5 separate regions of the Homo sapiens genome follow, and regions 1, 3, 4 and 5 are each linked to region 2. The links are contacts of gene promoters, found by promoter capture Hi-C in human tissues and cell types (Jung and others, 2019). All regions are on one chromosome and are shown on one strand. Each heading gives the region's core, a stretch centred on a gene start or on the middle of the fragment in contact. The rest is flanking DNA. Distances are from core to core; before and after follow the strand shown.

Region 1 (4,544 bases), core at 1,164-3,663, 1.8 Mb before region 2:
AGCAAAAAAAACTGCTCTCCATGAATCAGTAAGCAAACCCTCACCATGCACTGAATTAGCCTTATCTTGGACTTCCCACATTCCAGAACTGTGAGAAATAAATTTCTGTTTTTTTTATAAGCCACCCAGTTTATGATGTTTTGTTATAGCAACCCAAAGGGACTAAGACATCATATGAGGGTAAATGATATTTCTCACCAGAAGTGTTTAATGATTCTAATTTTATATACACTTTATAACATAATTTCAAAGGATACAAAATAAAAAACTGATAGGATTACAAATAGGTGTAGATAAGTCCCCCATCATTCCAGGAGATTTTAACACACACCAAGCAAAGTTTTATCTCAAGTATAACTTTTTCCTGAGCTTATTAGCTGTAAATCCCCATTTCTATGCAAATTGTATACAAGGACAGACTCATCAGCTGAAAAACGGCTATTGATAATGCACAATTGTTATCTGTGCTACTCATCCTTACTCTATTTAAGCACACATGGAATGCCTACTATGTGCTGCTGGTACACACCTGCAAAAGAAAGAAAATTAAAAACCAATGAAGATCTCCAATTCAGTAGAAATTATAATTGATAGGCAGATAGTAAGGGTAAAAGAGTCCTCGGCAGAGTTTCCCTTTTAAAAAAAAGTAGCCCCTAAATAATTTCTTTTCTAACAAAGAGCAGCCTCAAAATTTGAGCTGCAGACATAGATAAGCAAGCTGGGAGCTTGTAGCGGTGAATGCCAGTAGCTGTGCCAAAGGAAAAGGGCTACCTTGGAACCAACTATGTTCAACATGGAGGCTCCATCTTCCCTTTTCTTTGCCACCACGTGTACAGTAAAGAAACAGGCAACATGGCAGCGGCCAGGTAGAGAACCCATCTGCATAATAAAAGACTAAGGCGGGGAGGCCAGATTTTCACACCCTATGCAAATGGCACACCTGGCCCTAACCGCTTTTTCCTGCCCTATGCAAATGGCACACGTGGCCCAACCAATCTTTCATGCCCTATATAGATCAGACACTGCCTCCTCAAACTCATCGATAAAACTCCTTGCATTCCACAGTGGAACTGGCAACCCACTTCTCCCAGACCCCTCTCTGCCACAGAGAGCTTTTCTTTCTTTCTCCTATTAAACTCCGCTCTGAACCTCACTCTGTGTGTCTGCATCTTAGTTTTCCACAGCTCTGAGACAACGAATCTTGGGTATTAACCCCAGAAAATGATGCCACTTTATAATCACTTTGCATCATAAATAAATTAGAACCAGAACAATGCAGAAATAGATATATAAAGTGCCACGAGTGTGAAACTGCCTGTGAAGGAAAATAAAACTAGGCCCTGAAGAATAAAATAAGTTTGCAAGGAGAGAAAGTCAGAATTCCGACTTTTTTAATTTATAAATCCATTATGGAGCACACATTTACCATGTCAGCCACAGTTTCTGGTAATGAGGATATGTAATTTAAAAATACAGCCGTTTCCCTTATGGATTTTGTAGTCCATTGGAGAACCTGAGAAGACTTAGGAAGCACCCCTTATATAGGCTGCAGAAGGGGAAGCTAAACAAGCTTCCTGAAAGAGGTGGCATGAAAGATACTCGTTTTTAAAAATCAAGTAGAGTGTTTATCAGAAGAATGAGAGTGGTGGGGGTGGGGGAGAAGGGAGGGACATTGCCCCAAGTGTTCAAGACATACTCTTGCAGAGAGAAACAGTTTCCTTCCTTCCCTTTTTTTTTCTCTTTTGTCCTTTCTTTCTTTCTCCTTTCCTTTCTTCCATCCCTTCCCTCCCTCTCTCTCCATCTTTCTTTCTTCCTTTTTCTCTTTTTGCTTTTCTTCCCTCTCTCCCACCCTTTCCACCCTCTCCTCCCTCTCTCCCTCCCTTTCCTCCCTCTCCTCTTCTCCTCCATTCCTTCCTCCCTCCCCTCCCCCCTCCATCCCTCCCTCCCTTTCTCACCTTCCTCTCCTTCCTCCCTCCCTCCTCTTCCCCTCCCCCTCCCTCCCTTTCTCACCTTCCTCTCCTCCCTCCCTCCCTTCCTCCCTCCCCTTCCCTCTCTCGCGCTTTCTTTTTTTCCTTCTCTTTCCTTTCATCCTTCCCTCCTGCCCACCCCTCTCTCTTGCTCTCTCTCTCTTTTTTTTTTTTTGAGATGGAGTCTCGCTCTGTCGCCCAGGCTGGAGTGCAGTGGTACCATCTCGGCTCACTGCAACCTCTGCCTCCTGTGTTCAAGCGATTCTCCTTGCTCCGTCCAGCTAATTTTTGTAGTTGTACTAGAGACGAAGTTTTGCCATGTTGGCCAGAGTGGTCTCCAACTCCTGACCTCAGGTGATCCGCCCGTCTTGGACTCGCAAAGTGCTGGGATTACATGCGTGAGCCACTGCGCCAGTCTTTCTTGCTCTCTCTCTCTCTTTTTTTTTTTTCCTTTTCCCTCCCTCCGTCCCCTCCTTCTTTCCTTTCTTCCTGCCTGCCTGCCTTCAATCTCTCTCTCTCTCTCTCTTTTTTTAGACGGAGTCTCGCTCTGTCGCCAGGCTGGAGTGCAGTGGCGCAATCTCCGATCACTGCAAGCTCCGGCTCCCTGGTTCAAGAGATTCTCCTGCCTCGGCCTCCCCAGTAGCTGGGAATACAGGCATCTGCCACCAAGCCCAGCTAACTTTTGTATTTTCTTTTTCTTTTTATTTATTTATTTATTTTATTTTATTTTATTTTATTTTATTTTATTTTATTTTATTTTATTTTATTTTATTTTATTATTTTTTGAGACGGAGTTTCGCTCTGTTGCCCAGGGTGGAGTGCAGCGGCGCGATTTCGGCTCACTGCAAGCTCCGCCTGCCAGGTTCACGCCATTCTCCTGCCTCGGCCTCCTGAGCAGCTGGGACTATAGGCGCCCGCCACCACGCTGGGCTAATTTTTTGCATTTTTAGTAGAGATGGGGCTTCACCGTGTTAGCCGGGATGGTCTCAACTTTTGTATTTTTAGTACAGACGGGGTTTCACCATGTTGGCCAGGATGGTCTAGATCTGACCTCGTGATCCGCGTGCCTCGGCCTCCCAAAGTTCTGGGATTACAGGCATGAGCCACCACGCCCGGCCCTCTCTCTCTTTAATACCTCCTGTATTTCACCACTCTTGCAAAGTGAATACGTATATCCAAAAGGTTTACATACAAACAAAAGGTTACCAAGTGTGCAATTTCTGAAGCTACTCCTTTAGAGAAATAATATTTTAAACATATGTGAGGTTCTCACAGAAGGTGAGACAAACATTATACTTCATTTCCTAACTCTGTGTGCAATATTGACAATAAGAAAGATGTATTCAGTTTAACAAGTATTATTGAATTCCTCTTTGATTACTATTATAAGCAGGGGGAAGCATGGGGGTGGGGAAGTCTCCAAGAACTATAGGAATTTAATCAACATGAACAATCAGGCTATTTTACAGATTCCTGCCTTGCAGTATTGTTTTTTTCCGAAACCCTGTATGGAATGCAGTCACCTAGTAGGCTAGAACTAGCTGCAAACAGACTCTAGCAACTTATAGATGAAACCTGAATGAATTTTCCTCATTATCATGCTAAAGCTTCCACGCTGGGAGAAGCTATGGCTTCATTACCGAAACTTGCGACCTACCTGCTGGCATGTGTCACTATACTTCGTATGTGCTCCTGTCCATGCGATGATGCACCCTCTCCCCTCTCCATCACCAGGTAAAACACTCCTCACAATTTCTGAAAATATAAGGCTTTACATTAAGTCTATCCAGGGGCACCATTGACAATGACCTAAGTTGCTAATAAATGGTCTGTAATTTATATGAATATTTGATTTTTGCAAAGTTGTTATTATTATTTTGTTTGCTTATTCTGACAATGACCTAAGTTGCTAATAGATGGTCTATAATTTATATGAATATTTGATTTTTGCAAAGTTATTATTTTGCTTATTCTATTTCAACAGACATCATTTTGTAGCTAATTTAATTCCTTTTACTGCATTTCATTAACATTTAAAAGAAGAAAGAAAGATATTAAGACATTCTCTGTGTATTTTTATACATGTTTATAGGGTTATCTTTGTACTAAAAATTCCAGAGACATCAAATCTCTTCAAACAAATCCAAGGTTACCAAAGCAATAGCATTTACTGTTTAAATTAATCCCTTTGAACACACCCTCCAATTCTCTGCCCTAGAAATATTACCCCCTAGAAAAGAACTTAACGTTTTCACATCTTTGACAAAGAGCTGTATCAATGTGTGCTACCCTGCATTTTCCTGAAAATTCATAAGAAATCATTTCAGTCAATCCAATAGTAAGTTTAAAAAATTATTTTATAGTTTTATCCAGAATCTTGACATTTCAGGTATTTGAGACTCCTGTTTTTTTTTTAATCTGACCTTTTCTACCTAAATATCATATTTTTGCGTTGCATTTTGATAACTCAATAACACTTTTAAATGAACGTTTCATGCTTTTGACTCTAAAGTATACAGATCAACATGGCAAGAGCAAGTTCCATTTTTTAATTTAAATATTTTCATGGCTTTAAGC
Region 2 (4,154 bases), core at 564-3,063:
ACCACGCCCGGCTAATTTTTTGTATTTTTAGTAGAGACGGGGTTTCACCGTGTTAGCCAGGATGGTCTCAATCTCCTGACCTCGTGATCCGCCTGCCTTGGCCTCCCAAAGTGCTGGGATTACAGGCGTGAGCCACCGCGCCCGGCCAAACATATTTTTTTTTTTTGTATTTAACTTACCACAAAGCCCATGAGAAGGCAGACAGTTCTGAAACCATATTCTGGAATCTCTGCCCTGCAGGTCCCTAAAGAGTTAACTCAAAGCCAGATACCCAATGGAGGCTCAATTAATGTGAATTAGAAGCAACAATGAACCAAATCCACAGATAACATTACTCACACTAGATTGAAAAGTGTAATCTAGAAATATTAAGTGTGAAAAAGTTTCTCAATTATAGTTAAATCAGAATTCTTTAATATGTAAAGGCAGTGAACGGAATGTTAAAAAAAAATGGAATGTCACATAACTTCTATAAATTAGGTGGTAGAGGACACCAGTTATGATGCATTTCATGAACCCCTACTCAAAAAGAAGCTACTTGTTGAAACAAAATATGAATTTAAGTGTTTTTTTTAAGTGTTTTTTTGGGGGGGAGGGGCATGGTTGTTCTCTTCCAAAAACTGAAAAAAAAAAAAAAAAAAAAGACGAAAAGAGCATATATGTTATGCCCTTTTCAAAGCAAACCTTAGGTCTTATTGGAATTGTTTCCTAATGCTATATAAATGAGACACGTGAGGCAATATACACTCCCCCACAGATGAATAACATAACATTTAGGTTACCAGGGCCTTTCACAATCTAACCTAACACCACTTTCCCAGGTTCATTTATCACTGGTTTCTTCTCAATACCTTCTGGTCAAAGACCACCAGAAGCACACATGTAATTGACAAACGGGGTTTATTATTCATTGCAGTAAGGGTTCTCTGTAAAATATTAGAAAATGCTTATTGGATTTGGGATTTTTTTCTCCTAATATTGGCTACCTTACCAAATCTTAGGAGGAAGAAAGGCTAGATCAAGGCTAAGATTGTAATTGGTAAAGAAGCAGAAGTCATCAAATTAAACCAGATAGGGTGATGTCCGGTCATTTTCGTGGCTTGGACAATGTTTTATCTGTGTTCAGATGTGATTACACAGTGATCATATTCTTTTCTTAATGAACACTGTCAGAGTGGTCTTGTTGGATGCTAATGCTTGCTGAAATTGTGTACGTTCATCAGGCGGACACCAGTTCCTAGTCCAGGCTAGCTCCAGGTGTCAGAGGCCACTTTTCCCTTCTACTCCTCACACATGCTGTACTCATACCAGACTTGAGTTTTCCCTGCCCTTTGTTCTTCCTTCTTTTTTATTCGATTCCCATTATCTTTAGTGATCATTCCCTTAGCATTTCAGTTTTCTCTCTGAAGTCCTTTGTGCTGCACGTTGTTTGATTACTTGTGTTTATGCTTTGTTTCTTCAGCTAGGATCATTAGCACATATCTCTCAGCATTGGCAAAAGTCCTCGAAATCATTGACACCTAGCATATACTTTATTTTTAAAAAAGAAAGAAAGAAGAGAAAAGGGATGGGTTTATTGTCCTTTTCAACAGACTAGAGTATACGGGGTGAAACTGCTTCACTTGATTCAATAAAATCGTTTCCGGTAACAGGCCCCAGGAATCCTAGACCTAAGCCTGGCGCGAAACTACATTTCCCACAATCCTTCGGGGGCTGATAAGGCTCCGCAATGGTCTGAACTACAATTCCCACAATCCAGGGCGATTTCCGCTTTGTCGCGTTTCCTCAAGGCTCCGCCCCATTTCCCATCTTTCTTTTCAGTCCTTGCGCACCGGGGAACAAGGTCGTGAAAAAAAAGGTCTTGGTGAGGTGCCGCCATTTCATCTGTCCTCATTCTCTGCGCCTTTCGCAGAGCTTCCAGCAGCGGTATGTTGGGCCAGAGCATCCGGAGGTTCACAACCTCTGTGGTCCGTAGGAGCCACTATGAGGAGGGCCCTGGGAAGGTTAGTGTGTAAGGGGCACGGCTTCGTTGGGGGAGGGGGCGCTTGGCTGTGACTCGCGCACCTGCAAGGCCGCCTCCGGGCTGTGGCGTGGGAGATGATAGCCAGAAACCAGGCTGAGACGCAGACTAGCATTCCACTTAGCCCAAGGACCAGTGAGGAAGCTGGGCATCCTAGCGCGTAGCCGCTAAAGGAATGGGCAGGTAGATCCGGAAGCCCTGCCTCCATCAGCCACCTGACGCCCCCTCCCCCGCCCCGCAGAAAGCCCTGAGATGGCTCCGGGAGGCCACGGCTGTAGGTGTGTTGGTTAAATCCGAGCTGGAGGTCATCGGACCCGAAATGAAGGTCATTGGAAAATCATGAGGAAATCAGGGCCTCTGGTTATGGAACAGGCTTTTTAAACTAGCTGCCTAAGTTAGAAGTACTAACCCTTCACCTCAGTTAAGGCTGGGTTTGGCCTCAGGTGTAAATAACTTAAACCACATAGCAGTAACAATCTCGGAGGGTCACACGAGGCCTAGTCATAAAGGCCAGAGAAGGTGCTTGGTAATGAAAAACAAACAAACAAAAAAAACTGTGGGCCAGGTGCGGTGGCGCACGCCTGTAATCGGGAGGCTAAGGCGTTCGGATCACCTGAGGTCAGGAGTTCCAGACCAGCCTGGCCAACATGGCGAAACCCTGTCTCTACTAAAAAGTACAAAAAAATTAGCCGGACGTGGTGGTGTGTGCCTCTAATCCCAGCTACTCGGGAGGCTGAGGCAGGAGAATCGCTTGAACCCGGGAGGTGGAGGTTGCAGTGAGCCGAGATCGGGCCACTGCACTCCAGCCTGGACAGAGCGGGACTCCGTCTCAAAAAAAAAAAAAAAGAAAAAAAAAGAGCTGTATTGCACTTAACATTGCCATGTATCTTCTAAGGTGACTACTTAGGACAGTAGTTTTTTCGATTTTCTAAAGTAAGAAACTTCTCACTATTTGACGTTTGAGTCCTCAAGACCATTCATTGCCTAGTGCTTAGTAAAGCCAGATTATTTCTTGCCATGTAGTGTTTTGTGATGAAGGTCATAGGATTTGAAAGATAAATGTTTAAAACGATGTTATGATTTATGGCATATGTTAACCTGATGATGTAAAATATAACTAGCATTTCCTGTATACTTGTATTTTGATTATTAAGCAGATGATTTGAGATTCAATTTCGATTACTTTTTCTCTTTTTTTCCAACAGAATTTGCCATTTTCAGTGGAAAACAAGTGGTCGTTACTAGCTAAGATGTGTTTGTACTTTGGATCTGCATTTGCTACACCCTTCCTTGTAGTAAGACACCAACTGCTTAAAACATAAGGATGTTTCAGTTCCTCCATTTAACAGGTAGTTAGTGGATTTCTAATCATGTTAAAGCAGGCCTTTTTATTAAGTAGCCTCTTCCCCATCACCCAGAACACACACACAAATACATTGTTGTGTAGGGCTGATTCCTGAGGTTATGTGTAGATGTGGCATTGGTGGAGACTAGTTGTAAACCTATATAAAAATATTTCAATAATGGCCAGTGTTTATTGAATACTACTGCTTATCAGGTACACTTTACATCGATATCTCATGTTCTCTAGCAAGCTTGTGAGGCGGATGATAGTAACCCCATCTGAGACACAGAGATGTTAAGTTGTTCAACATCTCATAACTAGTATAATGGTGGACCAGGACTCTTGCCCAGGCAGTTTCTTGTTGCAGAACTCACACTTTTAACCAGGTAAAACTGATAAACTGATTAATGTTACTCTATCTTGAACACTGTTACTAGAACAGTAGCTGAGAATGTGTCTTTTAAAACACTATAAACATTTCCATTTCTTTTAGAAAGTGGTCACTGTGCTCCTAGTTTTTAAATTGGCTTACAATACTTGTTTAAGTTGTGAAAAATCCCTGAAGATAAAACCCTTCTAGTGCTCCTTGATACATAAGTCCCAGATAATTATGCAATTGTAAATCTGTGCCTCACCAACTCAGCCATGTTGGGAAACTCAAACTTTTAAATATACTTTCCTCATTAAGGCAGTGGTTCTTAAATGAGGATGATTTTACAACACAATGGGGCATTTGGCAATGTGAGACATTTTTGATCGTTCCAACTTGGGGGCAAAATTACCAGTGGT
Region 3 (4,445 bases), core at 462-2,961, 1.2 Mb after region 2:
TATGTGCCAAATTTTGAGTTTCTGATTTTCTTTTAAAGTTAAATTTCTCTATTGTTAATAAATACCATATATTTATGAAATACATTTTTCCCTTTTGAAAATTCTGCTACTGTTTTGTCAGTGCAATTTATCACAGTGAAGTGGCAACCTGATACACTTAGTATGTGGTCATTTCTAGTCATGCTGAGCAATATAGGTAGGTGTACTCTAGAATCTTTGTGCATAACTCAGTATGTCTTGCCATTATGAACTAATTATTTCAGTAGAAAAGATTAAAATGAATTCAGGTTTCTGTGTCTTAATTCAGCAATGGTATCTTCTCAGAGTGTTAGTCAGATATAATTTCTTAAGTTTCAGAAATATCTACTCCCTTGAATTTCTGGAGGATGCCCAAAGTGAAATCATAAGCATCATGACCATGAGAAACTGTATTAAACACATGCTGGAAACTTCATTCCTCTCTGATTGATGAATGTATCTCTTTTTTGTATGGTCAACTGATTTTTTTCTTATTTATAATAGTACATTACTGAAGATTTTTATGATTGGCTATAGATTCTCAATCACTGGTTTTCTCTGTCAGGAAAAATCATTGTCTTTAATTTTTGCTGCTCTGAATTATTATTTGAGATTATTCCTTCACTGTATAGTTAGTATATAGTATTTTATTTGTATATTATGTCATGGTTTAGAAATTAGTTCTTCCAAGCTTTGCTTAACCAAAAGATTTTTTAGTGAGTTCCTCCTCCAAATTTGGCTGCAGCCTCTTGGGTCGTTTTATTCTCTTTTGCCTTGAATAAGAATCTAATGCTGAATATTTTTAATGGCTCGGAAAAAATACCCCTATAAAACTCCATTTCTGATTACTGCAATTTATAGATTACTGTGACACATTCAGCTTAGAAAAAGAATGCTGGGTTGTTTGAGAAAATGTTCAACAGCAAAATAAGTTAGATCTTATCTTTACAAACTAGAATATATCTTTGCTTTCCTAAAATGCTAAAATAACAGGCACATTTACTCAATGATTAAGAAAAAATAGAGAATAAACAGTGGGAATATAGAGACATATTTTCCTTAGGATATTGGACTTATCCTGAGAAAAGCATACAGGGCAGTTACCTGGAGCTGGCAGATGACACGTTACCCACTTTCTCTGGTTTCTTCTGCTAGTTGTATAGAGAACAGTTTCCTATGCTTCTCATAGATCTGGTCTTACAATCCCACCTCCCCGCTTTTGGTTTCCTTTACTTTTTCCTTATTAATTTGATTTATTTTGTTTGTTTGTTTTTACAATAGTTTAGCAACTGCTAAGCATGGCTGTATTAAAATATGGCTTGTTGTATTATACATAGTTTTGGGTTGCTTCTTAGAGTCCTAAGTTGGACTATCCTTCTGACACTATAATCCCGAAGTCATTATTGGGCACAGTAAGAGATTTTCAGCTCCAATATCTAACATCTATGATTATCTCTTGACTTCTTCCACGTGGAGGAGACCTCAGTCTTGTTTTCTTCATAGGCATTAGATTTAACATTTCTGCAGAGCAGAGATCCTTTCATTTGCTTTTCCTCTTAATTACCCCTTATGACTAGTGAAATTAGTTTTGCATAAAATGCTAGAGAACTTTATTGGAGGCCTTGTCTGCCATTAATATTTCCTCTGAAGTGAAACTTGCCTAGTCTATAAGGGACTCCATTAAGAGATGTCAATTGGAAACAAGACAGTCTTTTTGCAGACTCAGCTGGTGATAAATCTTTCCTTTCTCACCCTCAGGGTGATTCAGAGCGTATTTTTCATACTCCTAGACTCTGAATCCTTCCTCTCTCAGGAGAGAGTCATTTGATTGTGTCCACTCTTCCTGGTCTAGCTGTGAAGGCCAATCTGAACCAGGAGGCAGAGAGAGGACTGGATTTGTGATGTTTTAGCCTACCACCCTTGGAAGTCACTCATACTCACCCCTCCCAGTTCTGATCTTCTACTTCAGTTTGGCCAAGTGACTTCTGCCTTATTTTGTCTGTCTGGGCAACTATTTCCATCATTGCCCATAGCATGGGTCTCCCAGAATGAGACTCTTCCTTGCTCTCATGAGTGCTCCCTGGCACTGAAGTTAGTCTTTGAATAATTGTTGTGATCTACTTATGCAAATGGACTGTATACACTTCCAGGATAAATGCCAAGATTCAGAGTTCCCCAGCACACTTCTCCTGCCTGTTCTTTAGTACCATGCTCACCTGCTGTGGAATTCCCCATTCGGGGCTCCTGTCATTAATAGAGAACCGTTGTCACTTCAGAGAAAATCTGGGTCAGTGCCACATCCTCAGAGAAGATAGTTTCCAGGTTTGTGTCTGAGTCAATGTCCACCCATGGCTAACCTGGTCCAGGTAAAGCTCTAGTGCTAAGTTCAGGCCATCCAAGGCTGCCATGTTTGGCTATTGCTATTGTTATCCTGGTGGTGACCGCCTGTACTTACTTCGATGGTAAGCTGGTAGCGGCTTGTGCTTTTATTAGAGCTACACGTAAGAGGTTAGTAAACTTAGAGCTTAGAAAACTCTGATCCCACCTCTGCCTCAACAAAGTAACAGAGTGGTAGCAAGAACCCTAATGTGCAAAAGTCAACTGGCTGTCTTAAAAGAATAATTCCAGTACCATAATCATATATGTGGATTTGAAATTTATTCCCAATTATCTTGTCTGTACTTCTAAAATTGTTGAAGCAGTTCTGAGCATTACAAATACTGGCTTTTTGTCTCTTTATGCCTCCATGTCTGAATATATAAAGTGGTTATTAAAAAGTAGATGCTATTTTTTAAAGAAATGAGATACAAAACACATCTTTATATGCCAATCATTGATTATGTTACCAATAATAACTTTAACCACCTGGACATTTGGGAGCAATTTACATCAAACTAGTGCTTTTCTGGAGAAACATTTACCATCTGCATAATGTAGAATGATATTTCCCATTAATACCTGGTTCATATCTGGGGTATGTAGCAAGAATGAAAAAGATGTTTCTTATGAAAGGCCTGTTTCTTGACAGTATATGAATAGTGTAACCATTACTTTGTGTTCTATTGAAATGATCAATAGACAGACAACTTTTTCTGCTTATAATTGCCAACAACAGAAATGATGGACATTATTATTTCTGTTTGAAAACAAAACCTATTTCTGCAGTTCTATGATTCTGGTTTATTCGTGCTATCTAATGAATGCTTCCAATTACAACACATAAAAAGGACAATTTTATATCTTCTGGTTTTCAAATAAAGTTTGCATTTCATCCAATCTGGACCTTAGCAGTAAAATTACGGATGTCAAATATTTTTTCAGGTAAGATAATTTTTTTTAAGCACAGCAGAGCAATTTTATGTGATACAGAAAATTCTTAGACCAAAAGGCGAGAGCTTAAGCTATTAATGGCTCAAACAATTTGTATTGACTAAATACTAATAAGACCTGATTCTCTATAGCTAGGAATGCCATCTGAACCTAAGTTTGCATCCATCACTCTTTATCCTGGGCTAGTTCAGAGCAAGTTATGTCAATCAGTCCCACATTGGTTTAGTGAATGTTTTCCAAAATGCCAAACTAACAACAATGTTTGCTTTGCAGTCACCAGAGTCTTGCTTATTCCCTTCATCATTACATTTCTACAAATAGTCTTAAACAGAAAACCTCTGGTAAAGAAAAGAGCTAAGTGTCCACCTGCTTTAGTTCCTAGTTAATTTATTTATGTGGATCTTATGTTTTGGCCAATTAACATGTTTGGTTTATAATGTTTCTTTTTTATTCAAGAGGTTGCCTATACCCATTGTAGCTTCTCTGGCCCCCATGCTCCAAATGCCAGCAGCTGGTGGGGGATCATCAAAGCAACATACTAGTCCCAACAGCTGTCACGACATGTTCAAGTTCATCTTGTAGTTTCAAGCCAATTCACCCTCTCTGCAGAAGGAAGAGAGAGAGACAGAGAGAAGGAAAGAAAATGGAATTCCTTTTCTTTGAATTGTTCATATGCCAAAATAGAAAAGAACAAGGGAGGCTTTAAAAAGAAAAGAGCTGTGTATGGTTATGTGAATGATAATGTATACTTACATCTTATTCTCAGTGGCCTTTACACTCACACTTCCAGTTTTTAAATTTAATTTCTATATTTCCATCCATTTTTTTTTGAAAATTAGTTTCTTATTAAAGAAATCTTAGAATAATTTACTAGTTTGTTATAAATGATGTGGAGTATAATTTTCAAGTCTGGGCACTTGAATTCATTTTATAAACATTTTGGAAAATATAGTTATCAAATGCAGCTATTTAATCTAGTTGTTTTTGAAGGTTAATTGTGTGCAAAAAAAGTCCTCTACATTTTTTGTATCAGTCATTAACATAGCTGCCATGCTGTGATTTTCTCTTTTATTACTTTAAATAGACATTCCAAAAGA
Region 4 (4,618 bases), core at 1,959-4,458, 1.6 Mb before region 2:
ATCCTTAAGGGAGTTCTAAACATGGAGATGAAAATACAATGCCTGCTACCACAAAACCACAGTTACATAGCCCACAGACTCTATAAAGCAACCATACAATAGAAACTACAGGGTAACCAACTAACAACTTCATGAGAGAATCACAACCTTACATATTAATATTAACCTTGAATGTAAATGGTCTATACACCCCATGTAAAAGGCACAGAGTGGCAAGTAAGAATTAACACAGAAACAGAAAAGCATATACCACATGTTCTCACTTACAAGTAGAAGCTAAACATTAGGTACTCATGGACATAAAGGTGGCAACAATAGAAACTGGGTACTAGTAGAGATGGGAAGAGGGAGGTGGGCAATGTTTGAAAAACTTGGGCGACAGCCTCATTTGTGCCCCAAACTTCAGCATTATGCAATACTCCCAGATAACAAACTTGCACATGTATCTCCTGAATCTAAAATAAAAGTTAAAATAAAGGATGTTTTGCAGTTAAATATATATATATATATATATATATATCATATATAGAGAGCTCTATTCATCTGATACTAAATGTATTGTATTAACATTTTTCTCCATCCTTTTAGTTTTATACTATCTATGCTTTCATACTTAAAGTGGCTTTCTTATAAATATTACATAGATGATTCTTGCTTTGTAACTTTTTAAATAGATCAGACAATTTCTGTTTTGTAACTGATGTTTGTTGATGCATAAAGAGATTATTGATATGATTAGATTATAACTTGCCATCCTGCATTTTCCCATTTATTTCTATTTTCGCCCTTTTATTTCTGCCTTCTCTTGCATTAATTGAGCCTTTTAAATAATTCTATTTCATCTCTTTCACTTATTATTTATATAGTTTTTAAAATCTTAAGTGGTAGCCTTTGGTGATACAATGTAATGTATATTTTTAATAAATCTGAGTACACATTTAAATAATTAAATACTGCTATATATGCAGTTTAAATACTATATAGCCATATAATGTCAATTTTTTTCTTTCCTCCTTTGTTCTATTCTGTTTAGCCTTTTACTTTTACAAATGCTATGCACATACCATACTTTTCTATATTTTTGCTTAAGATAGTCAATTATCTTTGCAACAGAAAGGCAATAAGAAAATATTAAAATTTACCAATCTTATTTATTATATTTTCAGTGTTTATCATTTCTTTGTATAGATCCAAGTCCTAAACTGCTATCGTATTCTTTGTGAATAAATATTTTTTAAAATTTCCTACAGAGTTTATCTAGTGTCGACAATATCCTTAAGCTTTTGCTTGAGAAAGTCTGTTTTTCATCTTTATTTTGAAAAGATATTTTCACTGTGTATGGAATTCGAGTTTTTCTTTTCTTTTCCTTTTTCCTCATTACATTAGAGGTGTCACTGCACTATTATTTACCTTATGTGATCTAGACACAAAGTCTCCTCTGATTCTTATGTGTGATCATTAAAATTTAATGTTTCTGTTTTTCTCTAACTGCCTTAATGATTTTTGTGTTATCTCATATTTTCAGTAGTTTAAATATAATTACATTTTTGTTCTTATTATTTTGTTTTGATTTATATTTTTTATTCTGCATGATATTCTCTGAATTGCGTAGAACTACAAATTTTCCTATTATTAATTTTGGAAAAATATCAAAGTATCTTCAAATATTTCTTTGTCTAGTTTTTTTTTTTCTCTTTTCTTTTTGGGGGTATAATTACACTTGTGATACAAGATTCGATATTGTTCCCCAAATTTTTGATACTCTGCTTTTGTAACTTTTTATCTATTTATACTTATTTTTAGGTAATTTCTATAGACCTATGTTTAAGCTTACATATTCATTTCTTCTCTGTGCTAAGTCTACTGATAAAGCCATCAAAAGCATCTTCATTTCTGTTGCTGTTTTATTTATCCCTTCATTTCCGTGTGATAATTCCTTGCGGTTTCAAAATAATATTCATTTTTACTCTATGTTTTATCTTAAAAGTCACTTTACACTACAGAATATATTTAATAAGTCCCCCACACTCCTCAAAAAAGACTGTAATGACAATTTGTGTCTCAATCCTCTGAACTGAAGTTTCTCATAGAAAATTGTTTCATGCTTACTGAGGATTCACCAAATAAACTTTGGTTTGATCATTATTTTTCATCTTTTTAGTGTTTAAATATTCTAGAATAACTCTGTCATTTTCAGTTTTTAAATAGTCATATCCCTACTTTTCAATAGAGGTAACAGTCTTGTGTAGATTCCCAAAAATAGATGAGGGAAAGAGCGCTGTGGAGGCACGTCCCTCACTCCAAGAAGGAGCTAAGCTCTACAACCACAGAAAGAGAGGAGTCACAACAAAGCTGATCTGGCATGTTCTCTAATTTTAGCATGTTTTTCATACTAATAATAGTTATTCTGAATTCCCTGACAATTCCAACATCTGTGTCCTATTTGTTTCTTGTTTTGATTGCTTTGTCTCTTACGACTGTGCTTTTTCATGACTTCTTACATCTTGTAATTTTTTATGTTAAAATTTAGTCATTTTGTATGAACAGTGGAAATTGAGGTAAACAGTTTTTATTTTTGGAAATAAACATGCCTTTGTTAGGCATTTAGTGCAGGGAGATGTTTGAGTTCATCTAATTAGGAATTAGTCTGGGTTGTAGATTCCGGATTGTAGATTTGTTGTTGCTATAATTAGCCTCAATGGACCACAGCCTTCAAATTCCTGTAGGACTATCTTTTGTTTAGGGTGGAGCTTAGTTTATTAGAATGATGACTGTTTTTAAGTTTTAGATCTACTCTGCACTGTGCCACAAAGTGGGTCTTTTTGATTGTTCTTGTTCCGTCTGCTCCCTACCAGCAGTTTTCTCCTTTTACTGGTTATCCAAATCATGTTATCTTGGCAGTTGAGGGTGGAGTGTGGTGCTTTCTTTGGTGTTATTATCAAGCCCAAATCTAAGGTATGCATGTGTCTCTGGGTTTCAGAAATGTGGCCGTTTTGTTCTCCAGCTACACTTTTCAGCTCAACGCATAATTTCATCCCACTCCAGGAATAAGCTTTATTTATTTTCCTTTCCTCGGCTGCATGAGTTTTCACAAATGGCCTAGGGGGTACAGTATTTACAGCATTTCATCCACAGTTTAAGGCTTTTGTTCAGTAGTATAGATAGGAAAGAAGAATCTGGCAGATTTTGTTACCTCTTCTATAAAACTTTTCTATTCTTCTTTCTTAGGCTTGCATCACAATGCGTATTTCTTAAGGTTCTATCTTTTCTGTGAGTGTGCAGGAAGAACCTGGAAGATGATATGGACTCCCATAGTTTGAGACTCACTAAAATTTCAAAATGTTCTTCTGGCTCACACTTGGTCTTGGGCAATTTATCAATTATTCAACTGAGCCGTTCTTACCTCTGTGTAGGTGAATCTAGCCAAAGGCCACAAGTTTGTACATCCCCACTCTGCCTGTCAGTACTATGTTTCCTTAATTTTTTGGTTAGTTGATTGTTCTAAAACTTCCACAATCCAATAAGTTTTAAGAAAATCATATTTCATTTTAAGGGTAGGGGTGATACTCCTTCCATATCTTTATACCCCAAGGCAAAAGCTGAAAATCCTGTGATAGAATTCTATAATAATATTATTAGGCTGCTCTGCCATACCTTATTTTCTATAAGTCACCTGACTAAAGTTAATTAATACTTATGGTTATTGACGTGACACAAGAGATGTTATTTGCATTTAATGATACAAACTGCATAAGACACTGAAGAGAACAACTCAAAATGTGACCTACATCAAATTCTTGCAAGTTTCCCAAATTCCGGAAACAAGAAAAATGTATTGCTACTTTGCTTGATGTTTTTTTTTTCAAGTACAATGAATGTGTGTATAAAATTAAATGCAAATCTGTAGTAGAGATTTACTATTAAGTTTTTTAAACATGCTGAACAATGCTGGCTGAAAAAATAAAGAAATAAAATGTCCTATTGAAATTGGATACTGCAATTCAACACTGGACAGCTTTAGTTCATATATTTCAATGACCATCAAGCTCATATACTGTTAGATTTAATTATCTCAAGTATATAACTCAGGAACCCTGGTATGTTATTCTAATAGCGCTATGAAGCTTCCAGTATTTGCAGCTGTGGCCAGAGCATGTTAATCAAACTAGTGTCTTATAAAATGAAAGTGATTATAAAATGTTAGTATAATTTATGTGGGGTAAGAAATGGAAGGGAATATATATTCAGAAAGCCCAGTTTTGAGATCTGACAATACAACAATTTTCTTTTCCTTCCAGCAGATAAGAGAATTATATTTACAGAGCTTATATTTTAAAAATAAATCTAATGCTTGCTTTTTCTTACTTGATCATGAAGTGTTCCCCTGGCTAAGGATGCCACTCAAAAACATATTCTATTTCTGTTTATAAGTACCACTGGGACAATGCTGATATTGTACTTGGTTTCTTTCCAGAAAAGAATATTCTTTCTTTCACTTTACATATTCATTTTACTCTAGCACAGCAATATTTTCAAGTTTTTAAAATGTAAAATTGATTTTGTGTTATTGAAAATTTTATTTTGAAAATATTGAAATAGCACCAGAATTCAAAAGAGG
Region 5 (4,651 bases), core at 356-2,855, 1.2 Mb before region 2:
TAAAGTCTAACAACTAGCTTGTTTTCCTGAATTCAGGACTTTTTTTCTGACCATATCCATTAAGCACTACTTTAAAATTTGCTTTATTATTAGCCAAGGGCTTCTAGTAAACACGTTTGCCTTCTTTAAAGGAGGAGTATCACAGACACTTAAGCCCTAAGTAATTGGGATATTTGTATAGCCTGAGTTTTATTCATGGAGATTTACATTCAATTTCCATTAATCTTAATAGGAAGTCATTACCTAATTGGCATGGATGATTGATAATTCAGAATAATTCAAGATAGTGTTACCGCATTTGATATTTTCTGTTACAAATGTCAACAACACCCATTTAAAACTAAATATGCATCATGTTATCTATTCCCAGGTAATTCTCCACATGGGCAAAAGTTTACTTTGTAGATAATTTTAAAATTAAAAAAAAGAAACAGCATTGAACCCATTAAAGATGTTAAAATATCTTTAATAAGTAAAGCTATTTTAATACTCAGTTCTTATAATTAAGAATTGCTGAATAGCCTGGAAAGTTATATAAGAAAAATATTCTTTGTGATATCTGAATATATATTTAAACAAGAAAAATAAATATTATTAGCATATGTGAAATATAAAATTAACATAAAGCTTTGTTCTTAATATGAGATTTTTTAATGTCCTTAAGAATTTGTGTCATGTGTACCATTTTCAAATATATGATTGGGAAACAGAAAATATAAATTTGAATTTAATTTGTAGGCTAAATATTAAGTGACCATATATACATAGGAATGTGAGTGTCAGTGTATGTTCATCTGTAAGTAGTTACAGAAAAGTAAACAAGAATCACTGCAATGATAGAACCACTATATTCTAGTTTAATTATTTAATTTGTGTATTTAACATTTATATTTATGTATTTTTCAACCAATTTGTGCAAAATTAATTGTTAAATAATAATTAATAAAGTATATCCTACTTCCTATTTGCCACATATTCCATGCTGCAAAATTAGAATGCTATAAAGAAAAAGTATGTTCCTAGAAATAGTTATCAGATCTTTATATAATGCATATCAAATTATAACTAGTTGAAATAAGTACTGACCAAATTTCCAAATTTTAAAGCCATTTTAATGTTATAATGGAAATACATTAATTGTTTGTTATTATTCTGTCTTCTACAGACAACTTCATAAAAGGGCAATAAATAGAACTTACATTTATCATTGTTTTTATTAGAAGAAACCCCAGCTATGATAATTATTCTACTTTTCAGATAAGACCTGTGATTGGGACCAAGAGACAGAGAAACAGATAAAAGTGATAAAAATAAAAGTGATTGAAGCCTTCTAGGTCAAGATTTTCTCAAAAGTCAATGAACAGTCAGCTCACCTGATATTTTGTTTAAATGCAGATCTGACTCAGTAGGCCTGGAGTAGAGGATCTAAGATAATCTTCCTGTCACAATTCCAAATGATAATATTACTGATCTAAGGACAATACTTGAGTAGCAAGCCCATTCTTCCTAATTTTCCAAATACATAAATAAACTCAGCTAAATTTGATGATTCCCAAATACCATAAAATTGATCATGAGCAGACCCCAAACTATATCATATCATTTTTCTTGTATTAGCAATTTGTATACATTTTTATTTTTCTAAGTATCAATTACATTATTTTCTATGTCACAGCATTTATATTTTATTTAAATCAATTTAACTGGAACTAACTGAATCACTATTAGCGAATCTCTTAACCAAGTTTAATATTAGTGAAGGAAGAACAGTACATTAGGTAGAACATTGAAAACCCACAGGAGAAATTAGAAATTAAACATTAAGTAGTGACTGGAGGAATATTGGGCTGTGGTAATGTGATACTTTATTTGAATCTGTAATACGGTTAGGTTAATTTGAAAATACTTATTGTGTCTCAGTTCTAGTGTAATGATCCGATTCAACTGGCACAAAAAATTTCATTTGAATGTAATCTTTAAACCTTTGTACATATTTTCTCTTGTGAATTTAGTTAACCATGCCAAGTCATTGCAACAGAGTTCCCTACTGATATAGAGATTTTCTTTGGCCTGCAAATTAAGTTGTTTGTGACTTGGAGTAAGGTTCCTGCTAGGTCTGCCAGCTTGCTTTAAGCTAGAATGAAAATACATGAATGGTTGACTTATGTTGATGTAAACTGTAATTTGAATATGTTCCAATCTTTCCGAAAGCTTTCAGAATGTGTTGTAGTATGAAGTTGGATAATTATGTATTGTCTTCCACTAATAATAGTTATAAATTCAGCACATTTAAAAAGCCTGCATGAAAGTGTCAGTTTACAGAATGATATTTATATTAGCAAAAGTAATGCATTTCAAGGATAAAAACAAACAGTAAAGTAAGTGGAAATACAGCTACCTATTGGATAGCTTCCTTCTGGGAGGAAATTTCCACTCATATTTTCACAGATCTTAAGGAAAATAGTAACCTGTCAGTCAAAAGTAATTGATGATCTATAGTACTTGGAACTGTTTATCAATGGGTTTGTTTACATGCCAACAAGTCTATATAAATAATATTAACTATATCATAGGAGACGACTTGGTTCATGGTGTCTCCTAAGTCATACATTTTCACATTTTGCATGAGATGTAGAAATACATCACTGACAATAAGTAAAAATGAAAAAAAATTTCTCAAGGTCCCTTCCACTCCCCACTCTTGACTTCTTAGGGCCCTATATTTGGTCCAGTTCTTCCATAACAGCCAATTTCTAGATTTGTCTAGTCTTTTCTCCCACCCAAAATGAGAGAGAACATTTGTCTTAAAATTTCAACTTGATCTTCTCTTGACACAACAATCTGTTCTAATGCATTGGGGATTCACATTTGTACATTTTTACCAATGACTGAGATGAAATTATGGAATACACAGTTGACAGAGACATAAAGTGCTGGGTTTAGGAACTAAAATATATAATATTTTCATTCAGTCAGCACATTTATACTATTTGTTTAAGATATTCAAAACACTGTGCTTGATAGGATGGAAATGGTAGTGGCATAGATGATATTTTACATTTTTCAAACTTAGAAAAACAATAATAATCACATAAATTTTAGGCATCTTGAAAATCCATTGGACAGTACTGTATATTTTAATGTGAGATGTTTTGGGAATCTATAAATTATAACACATAAGTGACTATAAGTTTTGTCTATGTATGAAACTATATCTGTGGGAAAGTAAAAGGCAGGGCTGTGTTAAGTCAGATGTTTCACTCTATGCATTTTAGTATTACAACTTTGTGTGAGAGAATGCAAGTGCATTTACTCTGGGACTAGTTCAGAACCAAATGAAACATAGTATCTTTGGAAATCTGAAAAATGCATATTCAGTTATGTCTGAAGCATTTATATTTTAATATTGCTAGGATCCAAGAGGACTCCAAATGAATCGTTGGTTACGTAAAATCAATCTAAGATTCTGAGTTAGGAAAATGTACTCAGAACCAATTGTACAAGCACACACAGATGTGTACACACACACACACACACAGACACACAGAGGAATGCAGATGTACACACACACATACAGACACACACACACACAGAGGCACGCATACACATTCTGGTCGTTGTTTTCGTTTGTTTTTCCCCAAACCTCACAATGGACAAAATGATAAAAGCATGTTAGAGCTAAAATAGGTGAACTTTTAGATAAGTTAGCAGCAAATAAGAAACTGCCCAACAGCATAATTGGGCCCTTAATGCCATTGGCAACATTTCTGAACATCTAATAATTATACACTTGAACCTCTTTCTAGAGTTCAACATGAAGTTAAAGCTCACCTCAGGGCTTATTAAAAACTTATGCTTAGTCAAATCTTAACTTTTCCTGCATGGCTAGGAGGAACACTGATTTACTTAACCCTGTAATCTCTCATCTCAGCTGCAATATTCTTTATACTGGCTTGTTCCACTAAGAGGGGAATCATGTCATACTGATCTAAATTGACTTGTGCCTATGTCTGCTCCAATTTTGCCACAAGCAGAACCACAATATAGTATCACTTTATTAGAATTTATTTTCTTTTCAGTTACATCACATAAGTTATTCTCTCTAGATAGACAGATTTAGAGACAGAGAAAGAATAACTTCTGTGATATAACTGAAAAGCAAATAAATACTAATAAATACTTGTTATCAAATATATATGTGTGTGTATTTATATATATATATATATATATATATATATACACCACTTTGTTGTATTTTAAACTCTTAATTCAGTAGCTAATTCAAAAAATGTCTCTTAAGATAGATTGCCACTATTTTAATTAATATTTCTTGGTGTAACAGCTTTCTATTTAGCTGCAAAATTTTATTCTAATTACATTCTTTCCAAGAAGCTATGTAAATTATTGGCAGATTTAATACTCTCAGCCTGCATCTTCTCTCCCATTGAAAGATTTCTGGAGTTTACGTACAATTAATTACTAGCAACCATATCTTTGTGTATGTGATTCAGAATTTTGTAATGTTGGAGACATCCCCTGCCTTTAAAAGAAAATCCAGAAGAAAGACTGTTTTTCAATTTTTCCTTTTTCTTAACCTCTATCTCTGACTGCAGGTTAACTTCATTTAGGAGGAAGAATTGAACTTTAGGGA

Evidence for each region. The method cuts DNA at HindIII sites, captures the fragments that hold promoters and counts their contacts. A contact is called where the count stands out against the background at its distance.
Region 1: a contact is called between a fragment that was not itself captured here and the fragment with the promoter of COX7C in region 2, in 1 of the 25 tissues and cell types used here (dorsolateral prefrontal cortex).
Region 3: a fragment that was not itself captured here is called in contact with the fragment with the promoter of COX7C in region 2 in 1 of the 25 tissues and cell types used here (spleen).
Region 4: a contact is called between a fragment that was not itself captured here and the fragment with the promoter of COX7C in region 2, in 1 of the 25 tissues and cell types used here (dorsolateral prefrontal cortex).
Region 5: a fragment that was not itself captured here is called in contact with the fragment with the promoter of COX7C in region 2 in 1 of the 25 tissues and cell types used here (mesenchymal stem cells).

The regions. Positions count from the first base shown.
Region 1 is chr5:84,861,435-84,865,978 of GRCh38, forward strand. No RefSeq gene overlaps it. Among named protein-coding and RNA genes, the nearest start is that of EDIL3, 480 kb to the left of the region's middle. The HindIII fragment of the contact is 3,977 bases long and covers 426-4,402 here.
Region 2 is chr5:86,616,128-86,620,281 of GRCh38, forward strand. It overlaps COX7C (cytochrome c oxidase subunit 7C), which reads left to right and starts at 1,814. Exons shown (of 3, transcript NM_001867.3): 1 at 1,814-2,003; 2 at 3,226-3,369. The coding sequence starts at 1,929. The coding sequence ends at 3,342. RefSeq lists enhancers at 1,482-1,561, 1,573-2,238, 1,625-1,919, 1,852-1,941, 2,239-2,904. The HindIII fragment of the contact is 7,958 bases long and covers 1-4,154 here.
Region 3 is chr5:87,793,139-87,797,583 of GRCh38, forward strand. No RefSeq gene overlaps it. Among named protein-coding and RNA genes, the nearest start is that of LINC02144, 62 kb to the left of the region's middle. The HindIII fragment of the contact is 7,725 bases long and covers 1-4,445 here.
Region 4 is chr5:85,050,544-85,055,161 of GRCh38, forward strand. No RefSeq gene overlaps it. Among named protein-coding and RNA genes, the nearest start is that of EDIL3, 670 kb to the left of the region's middle. The HindIII fragment of the contact is 3,308 bases long and covers 1,555-4,618 here.
Region 5 is chr5:85,386,895-85,391,545 of GRCh38, forward strand. No RefSeq gene overlaps it. Among named protein-coding and RNA genes, the nearest start is that of EDIL3, 1.0 Mb to the left of the region's middle. The HindIII fragment of the contact is 6,189 bases long and covers 1-4,651 here.